Linked DNA regions of Homo sapiens: all the other regions are linked to region 2. Evidence: promoter capture Hi-C in 16 types of primary human blood cells and fetal thymus (Javierre and others, 2016). All regions are on one chromosome and are shown on one strand. The core of a region is centred on a gene start or on the middle of the fragment in contact, and the rest is flanking DNA. Distances in the headings are between cores, read along the strand shown. Region 1 holds the start of IL20RB-AS1 (IL20RB antisense RNA 1). Region 2 holds the start of NCK1 (NCK adaptor protein 1). Region 3 has its middle 7.1 kb from the start of STAG1-DT.

Region 1 (3,794 bases), core at 1,259-3,758, 120 kb after region 2:
CCAGACTGGCTCAGGGGCCTGCAGTCTTTCCGGGGTGGACTCACAGAGCTGGCTTGGTGTCCCACTTGAATGGACTCTCTCCACAGCAGATCTGAGCCTGTACTTCCCACCTGGCAACTGATGACCCATTTGGCCTTGTTGAGGGACATGAAACGATTGCTTTGGCATCTGAGGATGGCAGTAGCAGGAGAGGGAGGTGATGAGAATGTTGCAGTAGTCTGCATTGGTTTTCCATGAATGATTAAGAGGCTCACGTTTATGCAACTTGCTTAAAGCCACATAGTAAGTGGCAGAGTCACTGGATCCTAGCCAGTCTAACAGAAGAGTCATAAATAATGTGACTCAGTTTTCTCATTTGTACAATGGAAAAACTAATGGTCTTTACCTCCCAGTATGGTCATGAGAATTCAATAAGACAGTCATGTAACAATCCAGCACATGGTCTAGATAGAACATGGTAAGTATTAGATAAATATTAGTCATTATTATTATTAATATTGATATGTCATTTATCAACAAAGTCAGAATTATAATGGTGGTACCCAAAATTTAGTGTTAACATAAGCATGATAAAATTAGAGTTGTTTCTGGTTTATAAACATGTGAGGCTTTTTTTTTTTTGAGACAGAGTCTCATTCTGTTGTCTAGGCTGGAGTGCAGTGGTGCAATCTCAGCTTACTGCAACCTCCGCCAGTGAGGCCCTTCATTAGACACTAATTTGAAGCTATGGCATTCCCCCACTATGAGCCCACCTGTCAGCCAGGCTATCTGCCTTGATCCTAGATGAAGTGGCCATTCTGCCTGCCCCTCAGAACCTCTCTGTACTCTCAACCAACATGAAGCATCTCTTGATGTGGAGCCCAGTGATCGCGCCTGGAGAAACAGTGTACTATTCTGTCGAATACCAGGGGTGAGTTTTTTCTTTTAATAGTTCTTCTCCCTTAAGCAGAAGTTGGTTCCTGAAGGCATAGCCCTTCCTCCTGAGCCCAAGGTGGCTTTTTGAGTCCAGGGATAGATTATCCCCAAAGATCTACCCCCTCTGTCTGCATAGGCATTGAAAGAGTTGAAGAAGCAAGGGAAATTGTTCTGTGGATTTGACAGTGAACTCTCTGGGAAGATGAATGTGCATAACACATTTTGGTGGAGTTATTTTAAAAAGTGAATCAACTGTCCAATGGGTTTGACTCTGACTTGAGATGGATAAATCACTGGAGACTCAGATCCTTTAAGGGTGGAGGAGTCCTCACTTTTCCTGACTATAAGCTTATACCTAGAGCCAAAACGAACTATAATCCTAAAGGTCAGCTGGCCCTGGGGCTGAGCAGGCTCTAGTCTTCTCCAGGTGTTCAGGTGCTTGCAGCTATTGAATAGTGATAAGGACACAGAAATTGCTCCATATATTTCATTAACAATGAATACAGACTGAACACCTACATGTGTAGACATTCTTCTAGGCTCAGGGATACAGTTGACAAGGTTTCTGGATTTTGAGAGCTTACATCTAGAGGAGGATACAGATGATAAATATACTAGGCCAGCATTCTCTAGTATGGTAGCCACCAGCCACAGCTGGCTATTTAAATTTAAATTAAATTAAATTAAATTAAATTAAATTAAAATGTCTGTTTCCTGCCACACTAGTCACATTTTAGGTGTTCAATAGCCACATGTGGCCAGTGGTTACCATATTGAACAACATCGATTTAGAATATTTGCATCATCACAGAAAGTTTATTTTTGGAAAGCACTGCTCTAGGGAATTTTGGATAGTAATCAGTGCTAGGAGGAAGCTAAAAGGCTGATGCCATAGAGAGTTGACACTGAGGCTCCTTTATATTAGATGGCCTGGGATGGCCTCTCTGAGGAGGTGATATTTATGCCATATCTGAAGGACAAGAGGAGCCAGCCATGCGAACAGCAGGGGCAGAGCGTTTGAGATGGAGTGAACAGTTAGTCAAAGGTCCTAAGGCAAAAAGTGCTCAGCATTTTGGAGAAATGACCAATGTGGCAAGAATATCACGCTTCGGAGCAGAGTGAGAGAGAAGGCCAAAGCATCTTGTAAGACCACTGGCAAGAGTTTGGATCCCATTCTAAGTCCTGTAGGAAGCCATTAAGGAGAGAAACGTCACAATCTGCTGAGTGGTGAATGGTTTTGAGAATGGCAGGTGTCCAAGCTGGGAGATCACAGCAAGGCAAGGAATGACAGTGGCTGAGATTAGGGTGATGACCCTGGAGATGAAGAGATAAAAGAGATCCAGACACATTGATGTTTATGCCTAGCTTTCCCTATCTGGCAATAAAAGGAGTAAGGGACGATGGATGGTTGGTAGGGAGGAGAGTGGAGGAGCTAGGATAATGAGAAAGTACTTATTTTACTTACCTGTACAAAGTAGGTGAACGAAGTCAGTTACTTGCAACCATAACTGAGCCTGTGTCAGAGGGGCTGGTGTAACTCTGTGCCCTCCTCTCTTTGACAGGGAGTACGAGAGCCTGTACACGAGCCACATCTGGATCCCCAGCAGCTGGTGCTCACTCACTGAAGGTCCTGAGTGTGATGTCACTGATGACATCACGGCCACTGTGCCATACAACCTTCGTGTCAGGGCCACATTGGGCTCACAGACCTCAGCCTGGAGCATCCTGAAGCATCCCTTTAATAGAAACTCAAGTAAGGCACTTCTCTCCTTACACTCCCACCCCAACCAGCCCCTCCTTTAGGAACCATGTTCACCTAAACTTTCTAGACTCTTTTTAGCATCAGAATAGTCCTGCAAAGCCAGAGTATTGTGAACACAAACAACCCTTACTGGTATATTTGAAAAATTGCCAACTGCTTTCTACATGCTGCTCTCTGTCATGCCCTTTGACTACTCAAGTCATTCCTGACTGTCTGTGTCAGGGTGTGCAGGTGTTGGGGATGCTGACATTGGGAACCTGGAAGGAAAGCTGCTCTGGAAGTGAAGAGGTGGCACCAGGACTGCTGCTCCCTACTCTGATTGTGCCTCCATAAATTGTGCCTCCCACTTGAGGCCTCATTAACTGCATATTTACTGCCCACGTAAGCAGCTTTGTTGTGCAAGAGGATTTATACACTTAACAGAGCCACCAGAAAATTGCCCTTCTGTAATGACTTCTGTGGGAAATAAATAACTTTTCTTTTGGAGTAGTACCTGGAAAAGGATTGAGAAAGAAGTAATAGAGGAATCCAGATAGGTGGCCAAATGTGGCTGAGTACAAGCACTGGTCATTGTATAAAAGGACATGTGTGTTTGCGGAACAGGAGAGGCAAGGGCTGATGGGCAGGGGGTAGGGAAGCAGTTGATCATGTGGTGAAGGGCTTTGACACGAAGCTTGACCAAGTCAGTAGAGGGTAGCCAATGAAAGAGGAGAGGATCTAGACCAGGTCTATCTCTTTTTTTTTTTGATACGGAGTCTCACTCTGTCACCCAGGTTGGTGTGCAGTGGCGTGATCTCAGCTCACTGCAACCTCTGTCTCCTGGGTTCAAGTGATTCTCCTGCCTCAGCCTCCTGAGTAGCTGGGACTACAGGCGTGCACCACCATGCCTGGCTAATTTTTGTATTTTTAGTAGAGACAGGGTTTCACTATGTTTTCCAGGCTGGTCTGGAACTCCTGACCTCAAGTCATCTGCCCACTTCGGCCTCCCAAAGTGCTGGGATTACAGGCATGAGCCATGGCGCCCGGCCGACCAGGTCTATCTTACAAAGCAACACTCTGGCTGCTGTGTGGAAAGTGAACCAGAGTAGGGCAAGCCTGCAGGACAGGGGAAGAGTGA
Region 2 (4,103 bases), core at 309-2,808:
CAGAGAGGACGCAAAAGAAGAAAGGAAGTGCGACGTTCTTTTTAACCAGCTCTGGTGGAAATAAAGAGAACTCATTTACCCTCTCCCCAGGGAGGACATTAATCTATTCCTGAAGGAACCACCTCCATGACCCAACACTGCCCATTAGTCCCCACCTCCAACATTGGGGATCAAATTTCAACAGGAGGTTTAGGGGAACAAACATCTAAATTACAGCACAGGCCAACCACATGCATGCATTACCAATCACGTAAATAATTTTGAAGTTAAATGCAGAAAACTGCAAACTTTTGAGGCTGATATCCAGGGCCAGGATTAAAATAAAAAGTATTAATGCCTTAAACAGTATTTACTGACCATCTACCCTACTGCAAGGCCCTAGGGAGAAACTGAACAGACATGGTTACTGATTCAACGGAGTTTACAATCTAGGTAGACATACAGGCAAACCATTTCAATAGCTCGGATGGAGAAAACACCTGTGCTCCAAGGAAGGTACCTAACTGAGCAAGCTTCCCTGAGGAGCGATCCTAAACTGTGCCACAAAGATGGTTAAGAAGAGATGAGGCGGCTGGGCGTGGTGGCTCACGCCTGTAATCCCAGCACTTTGGGAGGCCGAGGCTGGCGAATCACGAGGTCAAGAGATCGAGACCATCCTGGTGAAACCCCGTCACTGCTAAAAATACAAAAACATTAGCTGGGCGTGGTGGTACATGCCTGTAATCCCAGCTACTCGGGAGGCTGAGGCAGGAGAATAGCTTGAACCCGGAGGCGGAGGTTGCAGTGAGCCGAGATCGTGCCACTGCACTCCACCCTGGCGACAGAGCGAAACTCGTTTCAAAAAAAAAAAAAAAAGAGGCAGGTTACGGCGCGGGGGCGGGGAAGGGGGCCTGCAGCACCGGCGAGGGGAAGAACCAACTTACTGATGCCTCAGCCAGTGGCTGGAGCCCTAAGAATGGACAGACCTGGCTCCGAAGGTCCTCTTCATAACACTACTGCCGCCAAGAATGTAAGCTGCCCAAGCACGAGGACACTTTTAGAGGGCCCTCAGACTCAGCTTCTTTTGGTCTGTGCCTCAAATTAAGCACATGTCTTACATTTCTCCCAGGTCCCAATTTTCAGGTCTGCTTTTCTTTGTTTTTCTTTGTCGCTCCCCGCTCCTAAGAACCTTCGGCTGGGATGACATTCTTCAGGTGCAGAAACCAGGGGGAAGCTCCCAGAGCAGTGGGGGCTGAACTCAGGACACAGTCATTTTTGCTGTTAAGTCTCTCCTGCGGCGCTGAGGAGGCAGGCTCAAAGTAACCAACCAGAGCAGCCGCAGAGGGAAAAGCTAAGACAGTTCTGGTCCGGCCCAGCGCTTCTCACCCTCTAGCTCTCTACTCTCCGCCGCGCAGCCTCCGCTCCCTCCACATCAGGCACGGCGCTTGATTGACATGAGGGCCCGCCCAATCCCAGTGCGGCAGAGACCGTTGTCGCGTCAGGGACCGGGGAAGGGGGCGACTGAACCTATCAGATTGGGTCCAGAGTGGGTTTCCTGCCCGCGCGGATCCGCCTGCCCACCGCGCGTGCCCCGCCTCTCTCCCAAGAGCTACGCGGCGGCGGCGGAGCGCAGGCCTCGTGCCGTTACGGCCATCACGGCGGCCGCAGTGGCGTCCTGGAGCCCTCCTCAGGTGAGCTGGAGCTGCCCGGCTCGGCAGCGGGAAGGTGAGACGGCCTTGTTGGCAGGCAGACACACACACACCCCCCTTCAGTCCGCTGTCCGTCCATACAGCCTGTTACTCGCTGCGTCGCTTCCTCTTCTCGCGCTGAGTTAGCCCCGGGGGCGCCGTCTGCAGGCTCGGAGCCGAGCCGGAGGGGGCGCGGAGGCTGCTCGGAGGGTCCAGACTTCTGCACCGGGATTCCGCGAGACCCTCGGGCCGTTGCCCCAGGGAGCGTGACCCCGCGGCCTCCTTGTCAGCCCCTGGAGCGCTGTGTCGGGCTGAGAGCCCGGGCGGCCGCCCGTGCGAGCCTGGGAGGTCGAGTGTGCGGCGCGCTGGTTGACTTGTCTGTTTTCTCATGAAAAAGTCCTTTTGCCAGCTGTGGCGTAATCCGAGGCCGGGAAGGTAGGGACGTGGTAGGAGGAAGGGCGCTCTCACCTCCAGCCCGAGAGGAGGGGAGGCGTCAGCCTGCGCGGTGCTGCGGGTGGACATCTTCGGGACGCGCCCTCTCCCCTCCCCCCACCCACCGGCCGTTTTCTAGTCTGGGGCTGTGACTTTAATGGTCTGGACCTGCTTCAGATTCGTACGCGAGTTGCTGGGGCTGTGAACTTTTGACTTGAGTTGTAATATGTTTGGTAAAACAAAAAACCATTTCGATAGGTTTTGTAACCTTTCTTCTGTATTAACATACAAGTTAAATTCGCCGTTAGAAGCTCAGGAAGCTGGGTTTTGTTCAGGGGTGAGGACGTAACCGTAGGAACGCTCTCGGTGTCAAACTGATGGACCCGGAGTCACCTGAAAATAATTATGCACGTTAGATTAGGTAAGAAGCCCTAGAAATTAGGAAAGAATTAGGTTAAAGAGAATTTCCTAACTCCTCTTTGGGTAGGGAGCAAAGCAGCTCAATGTCCTCCCAAAACGGGTGTTGCCAAAAGGTACTCATTTTTAAAATTTTACTTTGATAGACGTATGACAAACCAACTATAACGATTTCTTCAGCACCTGGAAACCAGTGTGCCTAGACTCTCAGCCTTCGGCGAGGTCACACAGTAAACGGAGAAATAACCTAAGAAGAAAGTTTTGTTTGGTAATTGTCAATAATATTCGTTCTTTTCTTTTTAAAACACTTAATTTTCTTGTGGGGGGTGGAGTCTGTGATATTCTTAAATAGGCATCCCATTCACAACTTGATAGTAATATGCACTGGTTGATAAATGGTGCTTTCTTTTCATCTTGACCACAAACTCTGAGACTTCTTTGGGAAAATTGTGATCTGTGGAAATTGGCTGTAATATCCATAAACATAGTTTGCAGAGTGTTCACATCTACTCAGCTGTTGGCTCATGTATTAAATTTTAAAATGTGTACTTATTTTTCTAGGCATTATCTTTTGTCCAGGTTTTGACAGTGCTTTCAGGTCCATCTAAATAAAATTTGAAACCTACGTGTAATGTTTTGTTCGATACTGAGGGAGTCCAGGCGGGGTAGCTCAAACCTGTAATCCCAGCACTTTGGGAGGCTGAGGCGGGCGGATCACGAGGTCAGGAGATTGAAACCACCCTAGCAGACACGGTGAAACCCCGTCTCTACTAAAAATACAAAAAAGTAGCCGGGCGTGGTGGCGGGCGCCTATAGTCCCAGCTACTCGGGAGGCTGAGGCAGGAGAATGGCGTGAACCCGGGAGGCGGAGCTTGCAGTGAGCCGAGATCGCGCCACTGCACTCCAGCCTGGGCGACAGAGCGAGACTCCGTCTCAAAAAAATAAATAAAATGTGTATTTATTTTTCTAGGCATTATCCTTTGTCCAGGTTTCTGCAGTGCTTTCAGGTCCATCTAAATAAAATTTGAAACCTACGTGTAATGTTGGCCGGGCTCGGTGGCTCACGCCTGTAATCCCAGCACTTTGGGAGGCCGAGGCAGGCGGATCACGAGGTCAGGAGATCGAGACCAGCCTGGCCAACACGGTGAAACCGCGTCTCTACTGAAAATACAAAAATTATCCGGGCGTGGTGGCACGCACCTGTAATCCCAGCTACTCGGGAGTCTGAGGCAGGAGAATTGCATGAACCCGGGAGTCGGAGGTTGCAGTGAGCCAAGATCGCCACTGCACTCCAGCCTGGCAACAGAGCAAGATTCCGTCACACACACACAAAAAAAAAACAGAAACAAAAAAAACCTATGTGTAATGTTTTGTTAGATACTGAGGGAGACCAGGCGGGGTAGTTCAAGCCTGTAATCCCAGCACTTGGGAGGCCAAGGCGGGAGGATAGCTGGAGGCCAGGAGTTTGAGATCAGCCTAAGCAATGTAGTGATACCCTGTCTCTAAATTAAGAAAATATAAAAAAATTTAAAAAGGAAAATAATAAAGAAAAGAGATACTTAGTGATACTTCATGGTTCTGGGTTTT
Region 3 (3,579 bases), core at 205-2,704, 100 kb before region 2:
GTGATATTTCTTACACAGAAAGGATTTTTAAAGTAAAATTTGGGCCGGGCGCGGTGGCTCATGCCTGTAATCCCAGCACTTTGGGAGGGCAAGGTGGGCAGATCACTTGAGGCCAGGAGTTTGAGACCAGCCTGGCCAACATGGTGAAACCCCATCTCTACTAAAACACAAAAATTAGCCGGGCGTGGTGGCGCACACCTGTAATCCCAGCTACTCGAGGGGCTGAGGCAGGTGGCAAGAGAATCGGTTAAACCCATGAGGCAGAGATTGCAGTGAGCCAAGATTGCGCCACTGCATTCCAGCCTGGCTGACAGAGTGAGACTCCGTCTCAAAAAAAAAAAGAAAAGTAAAATTTGATTCGTCATTCTTCCCTTTCCTTCCCCTTTTTCAGAGTTCCAAGTGCAACTGCTCGATATCTAGAGCAAAGAGAGGTCTTCTGATCAAGCTTCCTCACCCTTCATTTTTACCACCTCCACAAACCCTGTGTTTCAGGGATCATGACCACTGTCTCATCTTAATCTCCCCCAAATCAAGTATTCCTTTGCATTTTTCACTTGGTCACAAGGCATTTGTTCTTTCTTACGTTGGTAGACCTTTGCAATTATCAGAAATAATTTTCCCTTCTTTTCTACTCTTGCAATTAAGGTGTGCTGCCAATTGGTGGCAGTAATATGCCATGGTGTCCTCCCTACTGGATTTAAACCATTATTTTTCCTTTTTTTTTTTAATTTTTTTTCTTTTTGGAGACAGAGTCTCACTCTATTGCCCATGCTGGAGTGCAATGGCGCGATCTCAGCAAACTGCAACCTCCGCCTCCTGGGTTCAAGCAGTTCTCCTGCTTCAGCCTCCCGAATAGCTGAGATTACAGGTGACTGCCACCATGCCCGGCTAATTTTTGTATTTTTAGTAGAGACAGGGCTTCACCATGTTGGCCAGGCTGGTCTCAAACTCCTGACCTTAGGTGATCCGCCTGCCTCGGCCTCCCAAAGTGCTTGAATTACAGGCGTGAGCCACCGCGCCCAGCCTAAAAACACTATTCTTTCTACAACTGAGCAAGCAGCCAGGCCCAGTGACTCACACCTGTAATCACAGCACTTTAGGAGGTTGAGGCAGTCAGATCTTTTGAGGCCAGAAGTTCAAGACCAATCTGGGCAACATAGGGAGACCCCATCTGTATAAAAAATAAAAAATTAGCTGGGCAGGATGGCGCACACCTGTAGTCCCAGCTACTTGTGAGACTGAGATGGGAGGATCACTTAAGTGAGCCATGATCATGCCACTGCACTCCAGCCTGGGTGACACAGCAAGACCCTTTCTCAGATAGGCAGACAGACAGATGTATAACTAAATCAATAAATTCTGCCCCGTTCTTGGTAATAAGATGGTAAGAGGGATCCAGAATACCTTCCCTTTCAGAATCAGTAACCTGGTTATAGGCAAAACTCTATTCTCAAAAAGCAGAGGATCGGAATTGCTCAGATATTTTTTTAAAAAGAAATTTTGGCCAGGCGCGGTGGCTCACGCCTGTAATCCTTACCCAGAACTTTGAGAGGCCAAGGCGGTGCGGATCACAAGGTCAGGAGATCGAGACCGTCCTGGCTAACACGGTGAAACCCCGTCTCCACTAAAAATACAAAAAATTAGCTGGGCGTGGTGGCAGGCTCCTGTAGTCCCAAATACTTGGGAGGCTGAGGCAGGAGAATGGTGTGAACCCGGGAGGCGGAGCTTGCAGTGAGCCGAGATCATGCCACTGCACTCCGGGCTGGGTGACAGAGCGAGACTCCATCTCAAAAAAAAAAAAAAAAAAAACTCACAGGCAGAGGGCTGGAACTAGTGTGGGTAGGAGCTAAGAGTTATTATTATTTAGAGACTCAAGTGCCAGTAGAACAACCGTTTTCTTAGTCCAAGTTTCTTGATGTCCTTGGGATTCCACTTTATGGCTTATTTCAAAAGACCTGTATGAGGCCTGGACTACTTTGAGGAATCATCCTTTTTTTTTTTTTTTTAAAGTCGGAATCTTGCTGTGTTACCCAAACTGGAGTGCAGTGGCATGATCTTGGCTCACTGCAACCTCCGCCTCCCGGGTTCAAGCGATTATCCTGTCTCAGCCTCCCAAGTAGCTAGCATTACAGGTGCACACAACCACACCCAGCTAATTTTTGTATGTTTAGTAGAGACAGGGTTTCACCATATTGGCCAGGCTGGTCTCAAACTCCTAACCTCAGGTGATCTGCTGGCGTCGGCCTCCCAAAGTGTTGGGATTAGAGGCGTGAGCCACTGCACCCCGGCCTGGGAATCATTCTTGATAGAATAGCTATCTAAAACATTGTTTCCATATAGGCAGAAAAACCAGCCTCTAATTTTATTTTCTGTAAAAGAAATGCACAATGGCAACAAATTAAAGGATACAAAATAAATTGTAACATATCAAACAGGACAAAAAAACATAACGTTGAAAAGCAACCAAGCTTCATCCTAACTCTACCGCCAGGGCCACTGCCCAAGGACAACATCTTTTACATGTTTTTGTTTGTTTGGAATTACTTCAATATTTCTAAATATGCTCATTCAACTTTAAATAAAATCTAATGACTCCCTGCTACAAAGGATAAAGATTATGTTAATACCCACTGGTCCAATATTTAACAGTTGCATTAAGTTTGCGTCTTTTGTTGGTTTTCTTTGTAACTTTTTTTTTTTTTTTCCTTTTTGGAGACACGGTCTCCCTCTGTTGCCCAGGCTGGAGTACAGTGGCATGATCTTGGCTCACTGCAACTTCTTCCTCCCAGGTTCAAGCAATTCTCCTGCCTCAGCCTCCTGAGTAACTGAGATTACAGGTGTGGGCCACCATGCCCAGCTAATTTTTATATTTTTAGTGAAGACGGGGTTTCACCATGTTGGTCAGGCTTCTCTCAAACTGACCTCAGGTGGTCTGCCTGCCTCAGCCTCCCAAAGTGGTGGTATTACAGGCATGAGCCACCACGCTTCTTTGTAACTCTGAATAATACAAGATAAAACACTAGATAACATTTCAACTTTAGGTAGTATTACAACTCTCCACTATTAACACCACCATTCTTCCTTCACACCTTTTTCTCACCTCCCTTAAACACAAGAAGTCTTTTGTGTTTTGTCCATAGGTTGACACAGTTAATAGCCAACTTCCAGACTAAGGAGTGTGCTAGGATTACATCTTCTCTTTTACAGAACCACTGAACCACCGTGAAAACCACTAGAAAACCACTCAAAGGAAAATATAGAAAGCATCAGGATCAAATGGATTATCTTCCCTTATTAACAATTGCCCAAATATCTTTGCTTCATATTTAGATCACAAACGGGCTGGGCAGAGTGGCTCACGCCTGTAATCCTAGCACTTTGGGAGGCCGAGGTAGCAGATCACTTGAGCCTGAGAGTTCAAGACCAGCCTGGAAAACATGGTGAAATCCTGGTTCTCCAAAAATAAAATACAAAAAATTAGCTGGGCATGGTGGCACACACCTGTAGTCGCAGGTACTCAGGAGGCTAAGATGGGAGGATCTCCTGAGCCTGGGAATTCAAGGCTGCAGTAAGCCATGA

The links. Contacts are between HindIII fragments. The CHiCAGO score rates a contact against its expected background, and 5 or more counts as called.
Region 1: the fragment with the promoter of IL20RB-AS1 here is called in contact with the fragment with the promoter of NCK1 in region 2 in 17 of 17 cell types (fetal thymus, total CD4 T cells, naive CD8 T cells and 14 more); the score reaches 19.6 in fetal thymus.
Region 3: a contact is called between a fragment that was not itself captured here and the fragment with the promoter of NCK1 in region 2, in 4 of 17 cell types (megakaryocytes, M1 macrophages, neutrophils and 1 more). The highest score is 7.1, in megakaryocytes.

Annotation. Positions count from the first base shown.
Region 1 is chr3:136,979,683-136,983,476 of GRCh38, forward strand. It overlaps IL20RB-AS1 (IL20RB antisense RNA 1), which reads right to left and starts at 2,509. Exons shown (of 4, transcript NR_183729.1): 1 at 2,381-2,509; 2 at 1-168. IL20RB (interleukin 20 receptor subunit beta) reads left to right here. Exons shown (of 7, transcript NM_144717.4): 2 at 784-910; 3 at 2,478-2,668. The HindIII fragment of the contact is 2,087 bases long and covers 1,262-3,348 here.
Region 2 is chr3:136,860,650-136,864,752 of GRCh38, forward strand. It overlaps NCK1 (NCK adaptor protein 1), which reads left to right and starts at 1,559. Exons shown (of 4, transcript NM_001291999.2): 1 at 1,559-1,704. NCK1-DT (NCK1 divergent transcript) reads right to left here and starts at 1,414. Exons shown (of 3, transcript NR_110177.1): 1 at 1,098-1,414. RefSeq lists enhancers at 488-537, 1,098-1,157, 2,218-2,297, 2,308-2,427 and a silencer at 1,518-1,577. The HindIII fragment of the contact is 9,923 bases long and covers 511-4,103 here.
Region 3 is chr3:136,758,019-136,761,597 of GRCh38, forward strand. No RefSeq gene overlaps it. Among named protein-coding and RNA genes, the nearest start is that of STAG1-DT, 7.1 kb to the left of the region's middle. The HindIII fragment of the contact is 2,023 bases long and covers 444-2,466 here.